Regions from separate parts of the Homo sapiens genome. Here all the other regions are linked to region 3. Evidence: promoter capture Hi-C in 16 types of primary human blood cells and fetal thymus (Javierre and others, 2016). All regions are on one chromosome and are shown on one strand. Each heading gives the region's core, a stretch centred on a gene start or on the middle of the fragment in contact. The rest is flanking DNA. Distances are from core to core; before and after follow the strand shown. Region 1 overlaps LOC105373496 (a long non-coding RNA gene). Region 2 overlaps LMAN2L (lectin, mannose binding 2 like). Region 3 holds the start of STARD7-AS1 (STARD7 antisense RNA 1). Region 4 has its middle 27 kb from the start of ARID5A.

The links. Contacts are between HindIII fragments. The CHiCAGO score rates a contact against its expected background, and 5 or more counts as called.
Region 1: a contact is called between a fragment that was not itself captured here and the fragment with the promoter of STARD7-AS1 in region 3, in 2 of 17 cell types (total CD8 T cells and activated CD4 T cells). The highest score is 6.1, in total CD8 T cells.
Region 2: a fragment that was not itself captured here is called in contact with the fragment with the promoter of STARD7-AS1 in region 3 in 1 of 17 cell types (naive CD8 T cells); the score reaches 7.0 in naive CD8 T cells.
Region 4: a fragment that was not itself captured here is called in contact with the fragment with the promoter of STARD7-AS1 in region 3 in 3 of 17 cell types (naive CD8 T cells, naive CD4 T cells and total CD8 T cells); the score reaches 6.7 in naive CD8 T cells.

The regions. Positions count from the first base shown.
Region 1 is chr2:96,526,851-96,531,532 of GRCh38, reverse strand. LOC105373496 (a long non-coding RNA gene) reads left to right here. Exons shown (of 3, transcript NR_135564.1): 2 at 1,684-1,799; 3 at 3,350-3,593. Among named protein-coding and RNA genes, the nearest start is that of ARID5A, 7.6 kb to the left of the region's middle. RefSeq lists enhancers at 1-523, 2,734-2,883 and silencers at 3,744-3,843, 3,994-4,333. The HindIII fragment of the contact is 3,059 bases long and covers 1,498-4,556 here.
Region 2 is chr2:96,709,275-96,714,515 of GRCh38, reverse strand. It overlaps LMAN2L (lectin, mannose binding 2 like), which reads left to right. Exons shown (of 8, transcript NM_030805.4): 5 at 2,491-2,652; 6 at 2,746-2,860. Among named protein-coding and RNA genes, the nearest start is that of LMAN2L, 28 kb to the left of the region's middle. The HindIII fragment of the contact is 1,100 bases long and covers 2,113-3,212 here.
Region 3 is chr2:96,207,146-96,211,819 of GRCh38, reverse strand. It overlaps STARD7-AS1 (STARD7 antisense RNA 1), which reads right to left and starts at 3,404. Exons shown (of 4, transcript NR_046322.1): 1 at 2,841-3,404. It overlaps STARD7 (StAR related lipid transfer domain containing 7), which reads left to right and starts at 2,993. Exons shown (of 8, transcript NM_020151.4): 1 at 2,993-3,675. The coding sequence starts at 3,386. RefSeq lists silencers at 2,747-2,966, 3,317-3,576 and an enhancer at 2,709-3,299. The HindIII fragment of the contact is 17,331 bases long and covers 1-4,674 here.
Region 4 is chr2:96,560,655-96,565,988 of GRCh38, reverse strand. No RefSeq gene overlaps it. Among named protein-coding and RNA genes, the nearest start is that of ARID5A, 27 kb to the right of the region's middle. RefSeq lists enhancers at 610-1,110, 1,181-1,681. The HindIII fragment of the contact is 4,621 bases long and covers 1-3,993 here.

The DNA.
Region 1 (4,682 bases), core at 1,778-4,277, 320 kb before region 3:
TGACCCTTGTGGGAGGCAGTGGTGCAAGTCTGTGGTCCCAGTGACTCCGGAGCTGAGGTGGGAGGGGGATCTCTTGAGCCAGGAGTTCAAGGCTACAGTGAGCTATGATCGCACCAGGGCACTGTAGCCTGGGCGACAGAGCGAGACCCCAACTTAAAAAAAAAAAAGATGCCCTCAGGCTCATTATAATGCCTACCCTCTGAGCCAGGACCCACAATGTGAATTGGGTCTCAGCTGTGAGCAGGACACAGACGTCATCTCACCCTCTGTAGCCCTAAAGAGGCCCGGAGACTTCCTAATGGCCTCCCAGCCATTCCTAGGCCGTGTGGAATCACTCAGGTTTATGGTGGCGGGCCCCAAACACTTGAGGCAGGCTCTCACCACATGCTGACTCCTGCAGCGACAGGCTAGGAGAGGTCCATGCCTCCCTGGGAGCTTCTCAGCCAGTCCAGAGAACAGAAACCTCCCCGGCTCTGGAGTCAGGTGGACTGGTTTGCAATCCGGGTACCCTCCCTTGCAGGTAGTATGACCTGGGATGGGTTATTCACTGTCTCCAACCCTTAGTTTTCCCGTGTGAAATGGCGTTAGCAATACCTAGCTTGCAAGATTACTGTGAGGGTGAGAAATAACATAAGCCTTCAACAACTGGTCATTCTATTGTGGCAGCTACCTGAGAACAGCCTCCTTCGCCGGTGGCATCAGAACTTCTGCAGGGTGGATTCTGCACTCTTCAGGCCTTGCCCTGATGACCTGGGGCTGGGCCCTGAGACCCCACTCCCGATCGGGCTTTCCAGGTCTTTGGGTAGCAGCTGCAAAGCCCTCCCGAGGTTCCTGGTGGGGTCCTAGGCTCTGGCCAGGATGCGGGCATGAAGGGAGGAATTATGGGGGAAGTCAGTGACTCATCTCCAATCTGAGTAGGCCCCACTAACCCCTTCAATACTGGAAGCCCAGGCTTTTGGGGGAGGGACTGCTCTAATTCCTCCTCCCCAGATGAACTCATGGGACTTTGCGAATATGAAAACTAAAGCTTTCAGCCTTGCAATGGCCTGGGGTCAGCTGGCTCCAAGAACCCAGATCCCCCAGAGGTTTCATACTCTTGCTGTGGCTCCCCCACACTGCAGCCCCGACCTGAAGCCCAGGCCCCTGCTTTCATCATCGTGGTATCATCCACCAGGCACCTGCCACAGGCAGGGCTACCCTCCCTGCCTGACATCCCAACTACCTTTGTTGGAAACAGTACCTGGCAGGGAGAACCCAAGGTGAACCCAGGTATACGTGGTTCTGTCTACACCCCAAGAGCTCTCTCATTCTCCCCGCACCTGCTGTGCATCCTTTCTGCTGCTGCACGCCCAGATGTGAGTGTGCAAAGCTGTGTACACACGCCTGTGCATCTATGCATGGGTCTTGCCTGCCAGGAGCCCACAGCTCACACATAGGATCACACAAACATATGTATACACTAACTCACCAGAGAGCCTACAAGAAGCCCCTGAAGCTTTTTCTTCCCCACATCTGGGGCACCCTGGCCTGCCCTGGACTCCTAGAAGAGGACACAGGGTTGTCCAGCCCCCCTCCCTCACCCCAGCTGCCCACCTATGCCATGGTGTCTTCAGCCATGGGGCCTGCCTGAGGGATTCTGCTCTGTTAAAACTGCCTTCGCTCTCTCTGCCTTGGCCTCAGCAGGCTCTTCCAGACCTTCCTGAGTGGTAGTGGCCACGGCTGAAGACAGAGGGCTGCGTGGAGGCTGAAGGCAGAGGGCTGGGCCTTGGGCCTGGGTAAAGACAGCTCTGGACATGGAGGTAGGTTGGCATCCCCCCTCTCTGGCACATACGGCAATATAGCCACACTGGGAGGGCTTTGCCCCAGTGCCTGGTGCTGTTTCTGGAGCTGTGTGTGTGCATGGGCTATACCCTCTGGCCTGGAGGAACCTTCCCGGGCTTGGCAGTTCCCACTGTATTTACCTAGTGAGCTTCTGCTCATCCTTCAAGGGCCCACCTGAGGCAGATACCCAGGGGTCTCAACACACACCTCCAGCAGGGCATGTGCCACATCGTGCTCCTGTGGTCAGCCCCATGCCATTGTGTGACTGGCCAGCAGCTCCCGAGCCTCTCGTCTCCAGCTAGGAGTGGTCTTTACTATCTGCCCACACTACGCTGCTGAAAGGGCCGCAGAACCCCGGCCACTGCTCCTCCAGAAGAGGAAACTGAGGGTCTAAGTGGGAAGGGACTTATCCAAGGTCTCACAGTCGCTTCAAAAGATCTCACAGTTGGTAAAGGAATTGGGAAGGAAGAGGAGGAAGTGAGAGGCCACTGAGGGCAGGTGCACAGTAGGTGCTCAATGAAGATCCACAGAAGGAGAATGAAGGGCACGGAGGAGAGGGAGGAGGAAGAGGCCATGCACCCACCTCCACCCCTATCCCACATCTCCCTCCATCACCAGGCAACATCTGCCCTTTCTTCCCCAGGGGTTAGCGCTTCCTAGTTGTCAAGGGCAGCACATTCTAGATGCTGGGGACTTGACCTCACATGCGGCCCTTCTTGCTGGAGTTTCGCTGGAGTCACACCCTCCCTATGGCTGCAGGCTGGCTGCTCAGGCCACAGCCCCTTTCCTGGTTATCTGTGTTGCTGCTGAATCCTGGCCAGGGGTAGTGAACACAGCCCAGGTCTTGGACTCCAGGACAGCGCCCCCTCAGCTCCCCAAGGAGCTCAGAGGTCCCAAGCCCCTGGCCAGCTTGTCTCAGCTGGAGGGAGGTTCTGGGCATCCTGTAGCTGGACTCTGGGGACTCTGAGGCCTGCCTTGGCTGAGAATCTGTCTTGGCACAGATTCTGTGCCAAAGCGATGGGCAAATTTTTCTCCACAGGAAACCCAAGTACCCCAGTGCAGTTGAACTCTCCGTGCTGTCTCCTATCTATGAAACCGGCTGGCAGGCACAATAACAGCCCTCACGCCTCCGGGTGCAGTTACGGGCATTGGATGAGCTATTTCTTATAAAGGGCTTAGAACTGTGCCCGCTGGCGGGAGGAAGTGCTCCATAAACATTAGCTGGTTTCCACAGCCCTGGGTGAAACAGAAGGCACGGGGTGGGCCCAGGCTGGGGGAGTGGGGACAGGAAACCTGACTTCCAGCTCCAGCCCCAGCTCAGCAGATAGGCCATTTGGTTCTGCAAGGCCCCCACCCCCTTGCCTTCCCTCCTTCTGTACGTGTGTGTCATATTTTGTTGGCTTTGGGGCTTTCTTTTCTTTCTTTCTTTTCTTTTTTTTTTTAAATAAACAAGGGCTGCATGAAACCCCTAATATTCTGGGTAAGTGTTGAAACAGCTCAGAAATCCCCTCCTCCCCTTGTGACTCAGTGGCAGGAGCGATAAGCAGAACTACTGGTGACACTGTGGGAGAGAAATTCTGCAAAATAACAGCTGGGCAGCCCGGGACCCCAGGGAGTTGAAATGGGACCTCGGAGACATCAGGATGTCCTGGAGAGGCACCAAGGCCAGAGGTCCCCCAGGGACCGTGGAGGGGGCATTAAGCCCTGAAAACAGATCATGATGCCCATCCCCCCAGCACAATTAGAAATAAAAACAACCCGGGACAGTTAAATTAGTGTAAGGAAGTCCCTCAAGAGTTTTACTTTTCCCGTAACGGCGATTTTCGATGCTCCTTCGGAAACATCAGATTCTTTCCAAGCGTTATTCTTTTTCTATTTTGGTGCCCGAAGTACTAGCGTGGTGGACCAAGCCCCTACACCAGCCGTGAGCGACCCCTGCGGGCTGCCTGGCCCCTGTGGGCACTGGCTCCGGGGATGCGGCAGGGGGCGGAGGGGGCGACACCGGGCTTGGGGGGCGGGCAGCGGAGGGAGGACTGGGGGTGGGGAGGGGGGAGGGCGGGGAGGGCGCCCAGCGGCGCGGCCGCGCCCCCCACCCCACCCCATTCCACCCCCACCGAGGACCGCGCTGGGGTTTCAGAAAGCGCTTTTCTGGCCCTGCCGCCGGATCTGACTCAAAAAGGGGAGCTGGCTCAAACCGAAAGAATAATTCGGTTAGCCAAAGCGCCGATATTTCCCTGGGGCCCAAATGGCTGCCAGGCAGGGGGCTCCAGGGCCGCAGCCTCGCCGGCCCCTCGGGCCCCGCCGAAAGCCCCGGGCCCCATCCATCTTCGCCACCGAAAGGGGCAGGAAGAGCAGCTGAGAGGAGGGCGCCTCCTCCAGCCCCGCAGGCTCTGCTGCCGGACCGTCGTGTCCCTCCCGAGGCCTTCCCCTGCCTGTCCCAGCGGGCCCTGCTCTCTCGGGTTCTCAGGACGTTGGGCAGACCCCTTAGGCCTCTTTTCTAGCAGCACGCACATTCCTGCACACCTCCGCATGTGAAGTTTTTCTGGAAGTATCATGTGGACACTTTTGGAGGCCTACACCCACTCTTAGAGGTGTCTGGCGTCCCATTGCAGGGGCGTTCCGTCTTTTGAAGTTGAAGAATTGTCTTGGACCATACGTAAAATACACTAACACTACCGACAGCCGGTGAGCTAAAAGAAAAAATCGCGAAAATACCTCAGTGTTCTAAGAAAGCTTTATGAATTTGGGCCGCATTCAAAACCTTCCTCAGTCACATGCCGCCCTTGGGCCACGCGTTGGACAAGCTTGCATCCTAGAGACCAATGCGAAATTAACTCGAAAAGAAAGAACCGCTCGGGCCG
Region 2 (5,241 bases), core at 1,413-3,912, 500 kb before region 3:
CTAAATGGTAGTTGTTGAAGATTAACTTCATGCCAGTTTAATCATCCACGGATTGATGTCATGCCTTTCTGTGTCCTGTATGAATTCTGCCAGTGGTGTTAAGAGGAGGACGGCAGGGGATCTGCACTGCAGCCTCGGACTCCTGGCTGTGGCCCATGGAGCCCAGTGCCGTGGGTGCTGCCTTGCCTCATGGCAGCCTCTTCTCACAAGCTGTGATTCTGACTGATCTGTTTCCAGTTCCTTGAATGTGCCACCCTCATGCTTCTTGTGCCCTCAGATCTTTTGGTGGACTCCCTCTAATTACTTGAGTCTCAGCTCAGATATTGCCTCCTCAGGGAGAGGTTCCCTTGCCCATCCCTTGTATTACCTATTTTATTTTCCTTATAGCATTTTTCACTATCTGAAATAATTTTATTTGCTTCTTTGTTGTTTGTTTCTTCCACTCTGATCTTAATTCCATTCCTGTCTGTCTTGTTTCTCTTTGGACCCTCAGCATCTGGAACAGTACCTGGCTTGTAGTAGGTGTTCACCGTATTAAAGGAGTGAAGGGTTTGAGTTCTGTACCCTCGCCTACCTGTCCCACAGGGCAGAGCTGAGCTGAGCTTGTGTAGGTACCTCTTGTCGCTAATGGCTTAGAACTGCAGCTGTTTGCTGGAGCAGAGCTTAATACCCTCACGCCTGATGATTTTCTAAATCTGTCATTCTGCAATGCCTCCATGGAGCTTCTTCCTTGCCTATGTGTGGTAGGTTAGAATGACAATAGTTATTTGGGAATATATGACCATAAGGCTCAGTTAGAGGGTAAGTGATCCCTTTGGATTAGAGTTAGTTTCATAGTCTCTCAAGTGGCAAGATTTTGGTCTTCTGGGCAGGAGCTGTTTCCTGAGATCCTGGATAGTAAAGGATGTCTTGAATTTGGAAGAATTTAGCCCTGTTGTCTCCTCTTTCCCCTTGCTATAGAAATACAGTAGGCTGGGTACAGACAAACTTGAGACTGACTCCCAGAGACATAAGTGCGGCGTGCCTGGACAGCGTACTGCTATGTGTTTTATAAAGTGCCTTCCAAAAGCTTCAGGACCCTCTATGGGTTAGAGCGGTCTTCCTAGGGGACCCCTTTGAGAATCTGATATAGTAACAGACCCTCTCCTCAGAAAAATGTACAAGCACCCGTGCATATGGTTTTGCCTATCATCTTGAGGGTGCAAAGACTTCACGGATGCCCTTCAGGGACCCTAAAATTCTGTTTGGGGATTTAAGTTGGTTTGTTCATCCATCACAGCTGGGTCATAGCTCTTCTGTGGCTGTGTCTTTCTGACTTGGTCTCCTGTCTTCTGTGCCCTCTCTTGTTTTTATCATAACCTGCTGGACCCTCTCAGGCCCAGAAGAGGCGATATTCTCCAGGAGTCCAGGTACTCAGTTCTTGGCTCATCATGAGCATCCCTCATTCCCATGTGTCCATCCAACATTTGTTGCTGTTTCAAGTCCATGTGGTTGTCTCAGGAGTCCCCGGTCTCTGGTCTCGACTGCATCTCCATCTTGCATGTTAACCATTTGGGACAAAGGGACAAATACTCCCCAAAGGAGTGGCATGCCTCATGTTACCCCTTCACCACCTCACTACCCTGCCTTTTTGCACTGCCTTGGCATTGGGCTTGTTCTGGAATGATTAGTTCGCCATTTCTAAGGAAGAATTGCTCCTACAACTCTACTGGGGAGAGAGGGCCCCTGAAATAGATGGGAAAATGAGTGGCTTATGGGAAAACTTGCAATTTTCTCCCTGTTAAGGGAGAACCTTGCCCTCTTATTATTATTCGGAGAAGTTACGTGTGGAGGAGGCTTAAGTGGGCTGGAAAGTCTTTTGACTAAGGACAGTCATTGTGGCTGGCTGAGCCCATCCAGCAACCCCGTTCCATGTTCTGAGTTCTAATCCATTTAGCCTTATATGCTTATAGAATTTTAGAATTGAAAAGAGCTATCCTGAATGGAAAGATTCCCCTGCTCAAACAGGTATTTTCAGAATACCCGCTGTGTGCAGAACCATGGTTGGGAGGAGATGGGGCTGAAGTTTAGACATATGAAGACGTGATGAATGAATTTTTTCTTCAAGAAGCTTATGTGGCAGTTGGGGAGATAGGTACATATACACGAAAAGGAAACCCCTGGTATTAGGCGGCACATAAGTGCCAAATGGTGACCTTGGGGCATTCAAGTCAGACTCCAGCGTCTTAGGAGGACCACTTCAGGCCCACCCCAGTTCAGGAGCCAAGAGAATTACTGAAGGCAAATACCAAGTGTAGTCGCTTCCTGGGCCCATTTCCCTTGAGAGACCATCTGAATGTGGGCTCTCAGGGGCTGCTGACAATGAGGTCGAGTGGCTGCCTATTCTGCTGTAAGGGGCTCAACTTGTATGTGCTGAATTCCTGTTGCTGTTTGTACAGGCGTTCCTATGTGCTCTTCCTTAGTGTCTGCTTCCCCCTCTCTGCTTTCCAGCGGGTATTCCCCTACATCTCAGCCATGGTGAACAACGGCTCCCTCAGCTATGATCATGAGCGGGATGGGCGGCCTACAGAGCTGGGAGGCTGCACAGCCATTGTCCGCAATCTTCATTACGACACCTTCCTGGTGATTCGCTACGTCAAGAGGCATTTGACGGTGAGAGTCCTTGTCCTGGACCAGATGGTGGTGTGGGCTGTGTCGCTCTTGCTCCCATGGCCTGACCCTGATTTATCTCTCTTTTTATTCTAGATAATGATGGATATTGATGGCAAGCATGAGTGGAGGGACTGCATTGAAGTGCCCGGAGTCCGCCTGCCCCGCGGCTACTACTTCGGCACCTCCTCCATCACTGGGGATCTCTCAGGTACTGCCACGCGCACTCTTGGTTTGCCCTGACTGAGGCCTCTTCTCAATACCCACACTTCATTGAGGCCTCTCACAGGGGAGAGCCAGAGGAGCGGTGCTCTGGAAGGAGGTGCCTCAAGACTGCTTCTCCTTCTGCATTCTTATATCCACATTCCTTAAAAACCCACGCCAGGCTTTCCTAGTACAGTTGTCACTAGAAGATGGTTGGTGCTAATAGAAAGCAGTGTTTGTCCCTTCATTAAGCTGGCTCTTCTAGCCTGTATCGTGAGTTCCTTGCTTTCTGATTTCTGCTGTCAGGCTCCTCTCCTTCCAACCACTAATGTTCCCCGTTCCCCTTCCTTAACAAAGCTTTTCCTTGACTTTGCCGTCCCTCTTCTGACCCCAGACTCTCCTTTTGCTGAGACTTTTGAATGTGTTGTGTGTACAGATCCTTTTGTTTCCTAGCTGTCCACCTCCTTAACATGCTGACTCAGACCTGTGCTCTATCTTGCTAGTACACTAACACCATTCTCATGAAAGGTCATTCTGTTTCCTTGCCATATTCAGTACTCTATTCTCGTTCTCACCCTTTGTCCTCCTCAGCTCATTTAACCCATTACCCTGAAACTCTTGCCTTCTTGACTTATGTGACATTAACAGCACCTGGTTCTTTTACTTTTCCATCTCCTCTTGTTTCTTTTTCTACTTATGCCTGATTCGTAGCTTCTCGTTTATACACTTACTCTCTTTGCTTGAACCCCAATCATAACATCTTTTGGGAAGAGAAAAGGAACTGAACTTCTGTTTCTTTTGATTAATATAATTTGTTCTGGATAAAGCTAGTTTGGAATAGAAGTTTCTTGTGGCAAAATAGAAAGGCAGATACCCATCTGAAAAAGCCGACAGCTAGTGAGCTCCAGCCATTGTAGCTAAAAGGAAATGTCAGCTCAGTGAGGCTAAATCTTCCAGTTTTTCAAGAGCAGTTGGAATTCTGGATTTTTTTTTATATATATATATGGAGTCTCGCTCTGTCGCCAGGCTGGGGTGCAGTGGCGCCATGTCAGCTCACTGCAACCTCCACCTCCTGTATTCAAGCGATTCTCCTGCCTCAGCCTCCCAAGTAGCTGGGACTACAGGCGCGCCACCACGCCCAGCTAATTTTTGTATTTTTAGTAGAAACGGGGTTTCACCATGTTGGCCAGGATGGTCTCCATCTCGACCTTGTGATCCGCCCGCCTTGGCCTCCGAAAGTGCTGGGATTACAGGCATGAGCCACTGAGCCCAGCCTGGATAATCTGGATTTTTAAAATGCAATCTGCTGATCTTTAAAACTCTGGCATCTGATTTTTTTAAAATCAACTTTACTGAGGTGTGCTTTCCATACAACAGAAGAATACAGTTTGAAGAGTTTTGACAAATATTTACACCTATGTAGTCACCATCACAATTAAGATATGAATGTTTCCATCACCTGCCAAAAGCCTTATTATCCCCCTTTGCAGTATTCCTCCCCTTCTTGGATTCCAGGCAACCATTGATCTGCTTTCTGTCATGCAGAGAGATTAGTTTTGGCAATTAGGTTCTAAGTACCGAGCAGGCCAGACCTGTGGGAAAAATTTAGTCTCGGCAGGGGGATAGGAGGCATAGGCTGGAGATCTTTGCTATATAATCTCATTATATGACTACACATTTTCCTTTGAGCTTACAGGTTTCTGGGTTAACCTCCTGACGTACTTTTTAATGGAAAGTCCCCAACTGTCAGAAATGGCAGGGGAGAATAATTTTTTGTTTAGTCTAAGTTTTTTGCCCTAGGTCTTTAGTGAGAATACCCAAGTTAGTAAGTCTGTGTTCTCTGCCCATAGGGTATCCCTAAATGCAAGTTGTTTCTTTCTTTTGAGGTCTTTCTTGTTGCCATCCTCTTACTTGTTGTATAGTAGGTTGTTGAAAACTGCTGAGAAAGTTAGGATGTTTCCCAGCCGTTCCAGGCTTTAATGCCCTGCATTGCATGAGGAGCATTGCCCTGGCCTTTTATCCTGTCCCATGGTTTAAACTGAGCTCTGACAGTTAACATTTTTCCAACAGAAGATGAATCCAGTTTTTCACTACCTGGGAATCTGCTAAAGATTCTAGCAGTCCAAGCAGCTGTGGATGCTCTCCTTATAAATGACCAGAAATCCAGGCCCCAGTCAGTAACCAACCTAGTAGCAATGAGCACCCCTAGCACTCAGATTTGTGGTCTCTAAATACCAATTCCCCCTAAAAGGAACTGCAGCTTCCTTGAGAAATGGCTGATGCAGGGTTTGAGGTAGGAAATCTATAAGTTGGAACTTCCCAGAAAAGCAAGGAAGTTATAAAAAACTTCTGGGTTTATGTAAAGAGACGCAGGAGCCAAACTGAATA
Region 3 (4,674 bases), core at 2,155-4,654:
ACAGTTAACAAAAGGTGTACCACAGTTTTTCTTCTGAAGCATAATTTTTCTCTCTCCAGTTCCCATTTTTACTAAAAACAAATCATGATAGAACTGATTTGTTTACAAAATAAACCGCAGTCTTATTGTACTTGGCCTGATGATTTGCATAAAGTGAAGCAAGAATAATTATTTTTCACATAGGCTTTGTTTTTTTTTTTGAGATGAAGTCTTGCTTCGTGGCCCAGGCTAGAGTGCGGTGGTGCGATCGTGGCTTACTGCAACCTCCGCCTCCCAGGCTCAGGCGATTCTCCTGCCTCAGTCTTCCAAGTATCTGGGATTACAGGTATCTGCCACCACGCCCAGCTAACTTTTTGTATTTTCAGTAGAGACAGGGTTTCACCATGTTGGCCAGGCTAGTCTCAAACTCCTAACATTGTGATCTGCCTGCCTTGGCCTCCCAAAGTGCTGGGATAACAGGTGTGAGCCACTGCGCCTGGCCTTCACATAGGCTTTTAAAATTGGCTTTGATGGAACTCTGTTCCATAAGAAATCTTAGATAAGACCTTTTTAAAGCCAAGCCCAGCCATGGGTTTGTACCCTCGAATACCTATGAGTTGGGTAAATTCCTCTCCTCTTGAGGTGTCAAGATAACTTAGGTCTCCTGAGCCTGTTAGAAAGTGACATTCTTTACTTACCACAGGTCAGGAACCTCGTACAGGGACTGTGTTGACATAGTATGAGGCCAGATTTCCCAAGGGGCTCTATAAGTCAATTTTTTGGCTTATTGGCTCTATAAGTCAACTTTGTTTTTTTTTTTTTTGAGACGGAGTCTCGCTCTGTCGCCCAGGGTGGAGTGTAGTGGCGCGATCTCGGCTCACTGCTGCAAGCTCCACCTCCCGGGTTCACGCCATTCTCCTGCCTCAGCCTCCCGAGTAGCTAGGATTACAGGTGCCCACTACCACGCCCGGCTAATTTTTTGTATTTTTAGTAGAGACGAGGTTTCACCGTGTTAGCCAGGATGGTCTGGATCTTCTGACCTCGTGATCCGCCCGCCTTGGCCTCCCAAAGTGCTGGGATTAAAAGTGTGAGCCACCATGCCCGGCCTAGAGCTCTTTTTTCTAAGAAAAAATCCTTTTAAGGCCAGGCACGGTGGGTCATTGAATCGTGAATTCAATGGGTGGTCTCTGAGCAGTCACCCTGAATCAGGCCTGTTAAACTTCTTTCAGGGCTCACTGAATGTGACTAGATAAATAAGGAGTGTTCTCCAAGTTAGGCCTGCTGGATTTTCATCAGCAATTCCTTCAGAGATCCCCTCCATATATACAAACACACACACGAAGACAAGACAGACAGAAGGCCTTCCAAATTAAGGTCCCTAACCAAGAACTCCAAGAGTACCCCTTCCAAACTATCCTCCTATTCTCCATCTGACAAATCTCCCTGAAATATTCCTGATTGAGAAGTCTCCCGAACCAAGACTCTTCCTAGTTAGGGACAGCCAACTGGGATGCCCCAGGAGCCAAACTGAGACAGACACCCCATGGTGGAGCTACAGACACCCACCATGTGGCTACAGAATCAGTCCGGAGAAGGAAGGAGGCACTGGCAGCACCTAGGATACTCAGCAACCTGCCACCCCATGATGGGGCTATAGCTACAGACACTCCATGACCTGGCTACAGCGCCCCGCTATGGAGCTACAGATACCCTGTGACAGGGCTACAGTTATGGGATGTCTCCCCAGGACTATTTCTCCATTGCGATTAAGTCCATGCATATTGGGCTAGCAGTGCCCCACTGGCAGAGACGGTGCCAGAGTTAGCCCCTAGTCCAAGAGAACTATGTGGCCGCTTAGGCTGGCCTCTGGATCTGTCACCAGAGGTGGGGCTACCGAACCATGGACAGGTAGCCACAAGGGGTATCCCAGACGAACCCCCAAATTTGTAACCGTACAATGGGTTCACCTTGCCCACTGCCTAGACAGAGCCGATTTATCAAGACAGGGGAACTGCAATAAAGAGTAATTCACGCAGAGCCCACTATGAGACTGGAGTTTGTTTCAACATTACTCAATCAGTCTCCCTTAGCATTCCGGGATCAGAGTGTTTAAGGATAATTTGGTGGGTGGGGGAAGGCCAGTGAGTCCAGAGTGTTGACTGGTTGGGTCGAGATGAAATAATAGGGAATTGAAGCTGTCCTCTTGCACTGAGTTGGTTCCTGGGTGGGGGCCACAAGGTCAGATGAGCCAGTTTATCCATCTGGGTGGTGCCAGGATCCAACCAGTGCGGGGTCAGCAAAATATCTCAAGCACTGATCTTAAGAGCAGTTTAGGGGGATCACAATATCGTAGCCTCCAGCTGCATGACTCCTAAACCATAATTTCCAATCTTATGGCTAACTTATTAGTCCTACAAAGGCAGTCTAGTTCCCAGATAAGAAGATTTGTTTTGGGAAAGGGCTGTTATCCTCTTTATTTTAAACTATAAACTAAGTTCCTCCCAAAATTAGTTCACCTAAGCTCAGGAATGAACAAGGACAGAAGCAAGATGGAATTGGTTAGGTCAGATCTCTTTCACTGTCTCAGTTTTAATTCTGCAATGGCGGTTATCACTGGGAGCCCCCAGCCCCCGCAGAGACATGCGGAGCCCCGCCCCCACCCTGCACTCTAATAAAGAAGGGGGCCAGCGTGCCGGCCTCTTAAAACAAGTTAACACCTGGCAGGATTCTAACAGGAACCTGGCCAGGTTTCTCCGCGGGGCGGGGCTGGGACGGCCGGAAGATGGCGGCGACGGCGGCAGCCGGGTCCGAGGGTCACTCTCCAATGCGCCCTTGACGGCTCTCGCCGCCGAGCCACCTACCTTGCTAGCAGGCGGCCTCCGCGCATGCATGAAGGGGCAGGAGGGGGCGGTGACGAGCACTTCACGGCGCCAATGAGCACCCAGGAGCCCAGGTCGCGCCCAATCACGGCCCAGGTGGCGGAGAAAAAGTAGGGTGCGCGCGCGCCGCGCGTGTGGCAGTCGCGGAAGGCGCGGGAGCTTGCGTGCTGCTGGGCCTGAGCTGTCTGTCTCGTTTCTGTCCGCGCGCCCTGCATCCCGGCCCCGGGCGCCCGCTGGAGGTCGCCGAGGAGCCACAGGGCTGACTGGTCTGCTGCCCGGGCCCAGGAGTGCCTGGTGTAGCAGTCGCGGAGCCATCCCGGCGTCTGCTGCCATGACCGACTCTCCCCTCAGAGGAGACTCTTCCTCAGCGGTGGCTGCAGAGACAGATGAGCGGCGGCTCCTGGCCGCGGGACCGTGAGACGGGTTCGTGGCCGGCCATTTAGGGGGACGCTGCGACCACCGCCTGCGCCCCTCCGGACTGGTTCCTTGGGCCCCGGAAGCTCGCGGCGGGCCCTGCGGGAGGCGGCATGCTCCCGCGGAGGCTGCTGGCCGCCTGGCTGGCGGGGACGCGGGGCGGGGGCCTGCTGGCGCTTCTGGCCAATCAGTGCCGCTTCGTCACGGGCCTGCGCGTGCGGCGCGCGCAGCAGATCGCGCAGCTCTACGGCCGCCTCTACTCCGAGAGCTCACGCCGCGTTCTCCTCGGCCGCCTCTGGCGCCGGCTGCACGGCCGTCCTGGCCATGCCTCTGCCTTGATGGCGGCGTTAGCCGGCGTCTTCGTTTGGGACGAGGAGAGGATCCAGGAGGAGGAGTTGCAGAGGTGGGCGCTGCGGCGAGCTCTTTCTGGGCCGTGGGGTGGGGGGGCTTGTGAACCCTGGGGCCTGCCCTGTGGTCGTTGGCCCTTGTTTACCCGGTGGTCTTTTAATTGGCAATACAGTCGATTGAACCTGCTTCAGCAAACCGCGTTGTTATTTGTCTCTGTGTGTCAATTTGCATTTGTCGGGTTATAAAATAGAACTGAAAGTGTGTAGGCTGGTGTGTAGGAGGGAGACTTTGAGTGGGGCGAGCAAGACAGTAAAGAAACAACACTGTAGAAATCAATTAGATAGCGAAGGCATGGAGGCCCTTGTTCATGTAATCTGTAATCTTTAACACAACCAGAAAGGTGCAAATTCAAAACAAATTTTAAATTTGGCCTAAGGGTGGTGGGCTGCTATTTGCAAAATGACTTCAATCCAGATGGGACTCAGGCCTGTGAGAAAAGCCAGGAGAGCCCTCTGTCATCGTGACTCGTGGCAAAATTGAGAGCCTGGAAGCGATTTTGTCCAGGTTACACAAACCAGCAGCCCAGACATTTGAACCTGTAAGAATTAGGTCAGATTTTTGCGACGTTAACTAGAACTTTGGGAATAGTGTCCCATTAGACTCTGAAGTCATGCTGTCGTCATCAAAACTGTGAAAAGCCCAGTACCATTGATTACGTTTGTTAATCTGTAGTTCTGAGACTGTAGTTTCCAGGTAATGTCATGGGGAAACTTTGCTTTGGTTTTTGGTTTACCTTGTGTCTGTATTTTCTTTGCAACAGATATTCTTAAACTGTGCCCTCCCTGCACAGAAAGTACTTTGCCGTGATTTCGGGAACCAGAGACAATCCCCTCCCTCCGCAGATTCCACACTCGCCTGTTTATTCTTGATATTTCCTCCACAGGGAAACAACCTGTTATTCCACATTTTTTGTTAGGTTAAAAATGGAAATACCCCAATAAAGTTTATACCATGGCCTGTGTGGGAGGTGTAACACCCAGATGCCAGGCAGCTA
Region 4 (5,334 bases), core at 434-2,933, 360 kb before region 3:
GTGGAAGTCGCATTGAGCCAAGATTGCATCACTGCACTCCTGCTTGGCGACATAGTGAGACTCCATCTCAATAAATAAATAAATAAATAAATAAATAAATAAAAGCATAAACAAAGAAAACTCACAGTTTTCAAACATTTCATATCAGTGAGTTTTTCTTTTCCCAGAGGGTACAAATTCTGAATTAATTTGAGTTCAAATAGACAAGCAGAGAAGAATAGAAAACTAGATGCTGTGCTGTCATTCACCCATCAGGACATGACCTCTGGGCCATTAAATCCATTTGGCTACTTCCTCCAGTGTCTCCTTTGCCAGTCTGTGTGCATGTCTGATTGGTTGGTATCTCAGTCACATGCCTGCTCAATGGCAGCAAGGGAGTTTGGGAATGCAGGTTTTTATAGCTTGTCCCTTGGGAAGATGGTACTCAAAATATAGGAAAGGACCAAAATGGGGGCGGTCCAGATGCCCTCAAGGATATTGGGTAGCCATCAGTGACAGACTTGCATCTGGTGTTTCTGATGACCTTCCCTCATTCTCCCTGCCTGTCAATGGAAGCCACTCTCCTAGGGAGGACAGATTTCAGCTCTCTCCCTCGTTCCTGCCCCTCCCTTTCCCTTTCTCTCATGCAAATTCTAATCCCACTCTATCTGATTTAGCATCCCATTGCTTTCTATACAAGCACAGGTTTGACAGGGCCCAACAACGGGGCAGAGAAGCCTGAAAGGGCTGCCTCGTACATGCCAGGCATTGTTTGCATGCAAATGACGGCTAGGTTTTCCCTAGGGAATACCAATCAGATCTGCTTCTTGGTCCTAGTTCTTGAGTGTAGCTGGATCCAAAGCCATCGTCCTGAAAATTCTGGAGTGACTTAAATTCTACACTATGTGGCAAGCCCTCCTCTCCTCATCACAAGTCAGAGGTTCCTGACTTATTGTCTGGAAAGAGTTCTTCCCTTACCTGTGAGCTGGAAGGTGTTCCTTGGCAAAAGTGGTGGAGGATCCAAGATGAAGGACTCGGCAGAAAATCACACACACACACACACACACCCCACCACCACCACCAACAACAAAATACATAAAAAGTGATGGAGGAGAGATTCTGGCCACTAAAGATCAATATCCTTATATTGGCCACAGGGGGGTGATTAGGCTGGCCTGTCAGGTGGCCTTGCTCAGTGCAAGGGCCAGTGAGTCCTCCCACTCATCACTGACTTGGCAGGGGACAAGGCCCAGCCTATCTCCATAGACGTGCCTCTGCTGCCTGGACCCATGGCTGGGGCTCTTGAATGTTCACCATCTGGGACACCTGGATATCTGGCTGATGGTGTTGGAGTGGCAAATGGCAGAAACGACATCTGGCTAGCTTATATCCAAAGAAGGATTTATGAGGAGGATTCTCGGAATTCTCTCCAACTCCAGAAAACATTTAGGATCCTCTGGGATATGCAGGGTCTCCCCGGAGCACAGCGATGACCCTGACTGAGCGCCATTAGTCCAGTTAGATGGTGCCCCTCCCTGGCAGGGGTCGGGTAGTACTGGACCACTCTGGAGATGGCCATGGGCTGGCTACTGCAGCCACAAAGATGTCAGTGATCAAAAGAAGCATTTGATCAGCTGGCCAAGGCTCAGGCATCTGTGTTTGAAGGGGAAGGCGTCAAGGAGTCTGCAACAAGGTTGATGCAAATTCACACAAAACCAGGCACAAAACCTATTGTTGGTCCAGGCTTCCAGACTTGAATGCTACAGCTGGCGGTCACGGCCCAGCCTCGCCCTCCAGGGAACCAGGCAGGAGACATGTCCTAGTGTCATGGGCCTGGGGCCATGTTTCCATGGTGGGCACTGTGGCACTGAGACTGGACCCTGCTTCAGAGGGACAGGGACATCATTCCACCAACCCACTTCTCAAAGTTCTCAATTTGCATAGAAGGCTACTCTCAGGACCTCCCTTCTTCCCAAAAAGGGCAAAGGATGGCCCTGTGTTGTCCCACTGACAAGTGCTGAGAAGCAGCCAGCTTTTCTTTCTGTTTCTCACGACAGTTTGTGTTAGTCTATCCCTGGCATTCTGTGCACAGAGACCAGTGCTTAAAAGGAAAGGAAGGGGATGAAACAAGGGGTTTGGAAAGGAAGAAATATTTACATAGGAGTGATGGTCAAATATGTAATAACTACAATAATCTAAATATAAAATATATATTTTTTATTCTCTAAATAATATAAACACAGTTGACCCTTGAACAACATGGGTTTGAAGCGCTTGGGTCCGCTTATATTTTGATTTTTTTCAAAAGATGTAGTCGGCTCTTGGTATTTACTGATTCCCTATCTGCAAACAAATACAGGTGGAAGATGCAGTATTCTCAAGATGCAAAAACTCGCCTCGTCAGAGGGCAGAATTTTTATATAGGAGGGATCTGCAGGGCAAACTTCTGGACTTGGCCATGCACGGATTTTGGTATGGGGGGAGAGTCCTGGAACCAATTCCCCATGTATACTGAGGGACAACTATTTCTTATAAAACTGCTTGCCAAGTGATGTAAGTTGTAAAACAAACCATTCATCAGATCCCTCTGATCATTTCCAAATCACTCATTGGTTTTCATAAGCTGTTGGTGTGGTCTTTGTTTGACATGGGTGTCCCTAAGTTAGTACGTCCATTTCTGAGCCCACGATGGCATGGGGAGCTGTCCCAGACTTCCATTAAGCTGCTCCTTTTGTGATCTGGTATCAGAAGTCACACACCATCACTTCTGCCTTATTTTATCAGTTCATTAGTTAGATGAGTCACTAATTCCAGCCCACACTCAAGAGGAAGGGAATTAGGCTCCACTTTCTGAAAGGAGTACAAGATTTTGTGGGCATATTTTCCGCTACCACAGTCTGCCTGCTGGCCACAGATTATTTACACCCCTCACTGTATTAGTCTTCTATTTCTGCTCTAATAAATTACCACAAGCCTAGTGACCTAAAACAACACGAATTTATTATATTGCAGTTCTGGAGGTCCGAAGTCCAGTATGGGTCTCACAGCGCTAGAATCAGGTGTCAGTAGGACTGTGTTCCTGCTGGAGGGTCTAGGGGAGAATCTGTCTGCTTGACTTACAGCTTCTAAGAGGCACCCACATTCCTTGGCTTGTGGCTCCTTCTTCTGTCTTCAAAGCCAGCAATGCTGGGCCAAGTCCTTCCTCTGCTGCCTTTTGAGTCTCTTTCTCCCACCTTGTTCTTCCACTCTTAAGGACGCTCATGTGACATTGGGCCCACCCAGTATTTTCTTGACAATCCAGGATAGTCTATTCATATCCAGCAACCATAATTTCATCTGCAACCGGAATTCCCCTTTGCCATGCCCCCTAATATAGTCATAGGTCCTGGGGATTAGGATGTGGACATCTTTAGGAGGCTGTTATTCTGCCTACAGTCCCATATACAGAATATACTCACCCTGTTTAAAGATTCCCCAGAAGCCTTACCCTTTCCAGCATTGGCTTAAAATCCAGGATGTCATCATTTACCTGAAGATGTCACCAGATGTGGATGAGGCTTCTTGGGCATAATTTCTCAAGTATAGTAGTTCTATATCCAAAGACTTGTGAACTAAAAGGAATTTTTATCTATCCCTGACATGTTCAACCACAGTGGTGGGACCGGCATAGGATAACTGCAGTGGACATTCCTATTCAAAAAGGGGAACGCGGGAGGCACCTAAGAGCCACTGGTCCCTGGCAGCTTTGAAATTCAGTGGGGTGAGTGTTGGAGGCTCCTTGATGAGGATGCACCCGTGCACCCGTTGGGGAGTGATTCTCCATGGGATAAAGCTCCCCGGAATGTGGAAGTCCCTCCCAGCAGATATCCCTTAGATCTTGCATTAGTCAGCTCGGGCTGCCAAACAGAACACCGTAGACTGGGTGGCTGAAACAGCAGTCACTTATTTTCTCATAGTTTTAGAAGTCGGAAGTGTAAGTTCAAGATGCTGGCAGGGTTGGTTTTGGAGGAAGCTTGTCTTCTAGGCTTGCAGACAGATGCCTTCTTGCTTCGTCCTCTCTGCTCATGTGCAAGAGAGTGAGTTCTGGTGTCTTCTCTTCTTATAAGGACACCAGTCCTATCAGATTTGGCCCCATTTAACCTTATTTATGACCTCATTTAACCTTAATTGCCTTGTTAAAGGCCCTAAGTCCACATGCAGCCATATTAGGGGTTAGGGCTTCAGCATCTGACTGTGAGGAACACAGTTTGGTCCATAACATCTCACTGGCTGGAGCTGGGCCATGTGGCTCCTAGCTGCCAAGGTGGTGGGGGATGTGGGGGACAGAATTGTTAATGATTGGCCAAACCGTGTGAGGCCTCCACCACTCATGTCCTGTTACCTGGGGTCGTGCTCTGAACCAAGCTGGGATTCTGTTAGCAAGGACAAAGTGGGAAATGGATGTGAGATGGACAGTTAGCAGGGTCTGCCACACTGTCCCCAGCGATGCTCCTGACCAAGCGTCTAGTCACACTCCTTGAGCCTAGGGACACAGGGCAGAGATGGTGGGCACCAATTCGTTCTGACCCCACCTCCCCAAGGAGACTTGCCCCATCTCTGCCCCTCCATCTCCATGCACTGATCTGGCCTGTGCTTTCCAAGGCCTGATCTTTGTCCAGTCCTTCAAGACTGTGAGACACTGTGTACTCCCTACACATCCCCTTTTTCTGGCTTAAATTACCCAGATGGTTCTTGCTGCTTGCATTCAACGACTACTGCTGAATGCTCACTTTAAAAGTAATAGAAATAACACATGATATATATTATGAATGTGTATGTGTGTGTGTGTGTATATATAATATATATATGTTTTCCATTTTGCTACATAGTCCTCCTGTTCATAATTTCAACACCACAAATGCAGTCTTCTTACCCGAGACTTGGTTGTCACCTCTGCACCCCTTCTTCCATTGCTGAGCATCTCCAATCATTTTCTACAATAAATTCCCAGAAGCGGGACTGCCGTCAAATGGGATGAATATTTTTACAGCTCTTGAAATATGCAAGAGGCCTGTGGTAAATTATACTCTCAACAGCAATGTGTAGCACTGTTTTTTTTTAAATTCCATCTCACTATATATTTGTAATTTAAAAAGAAAGAAAATGTTGTTTTCTTTTTCTTTTCACATATCTCAATTCCTAAATTAGAGAATTCCTGTCAAACTATGTCCCCAAGTTTTCTGGTTTGGGAACTGTGGGGATGTGGTAAGAAGGGAGATGGGGGAAATGGACAATCTTTTTTTTTTTTTTTGAGACTAAGTCTCACTGCATCACCCAGGCTGGAGTGCAGTGGCGCGATCTCAGCTCACTGCAACC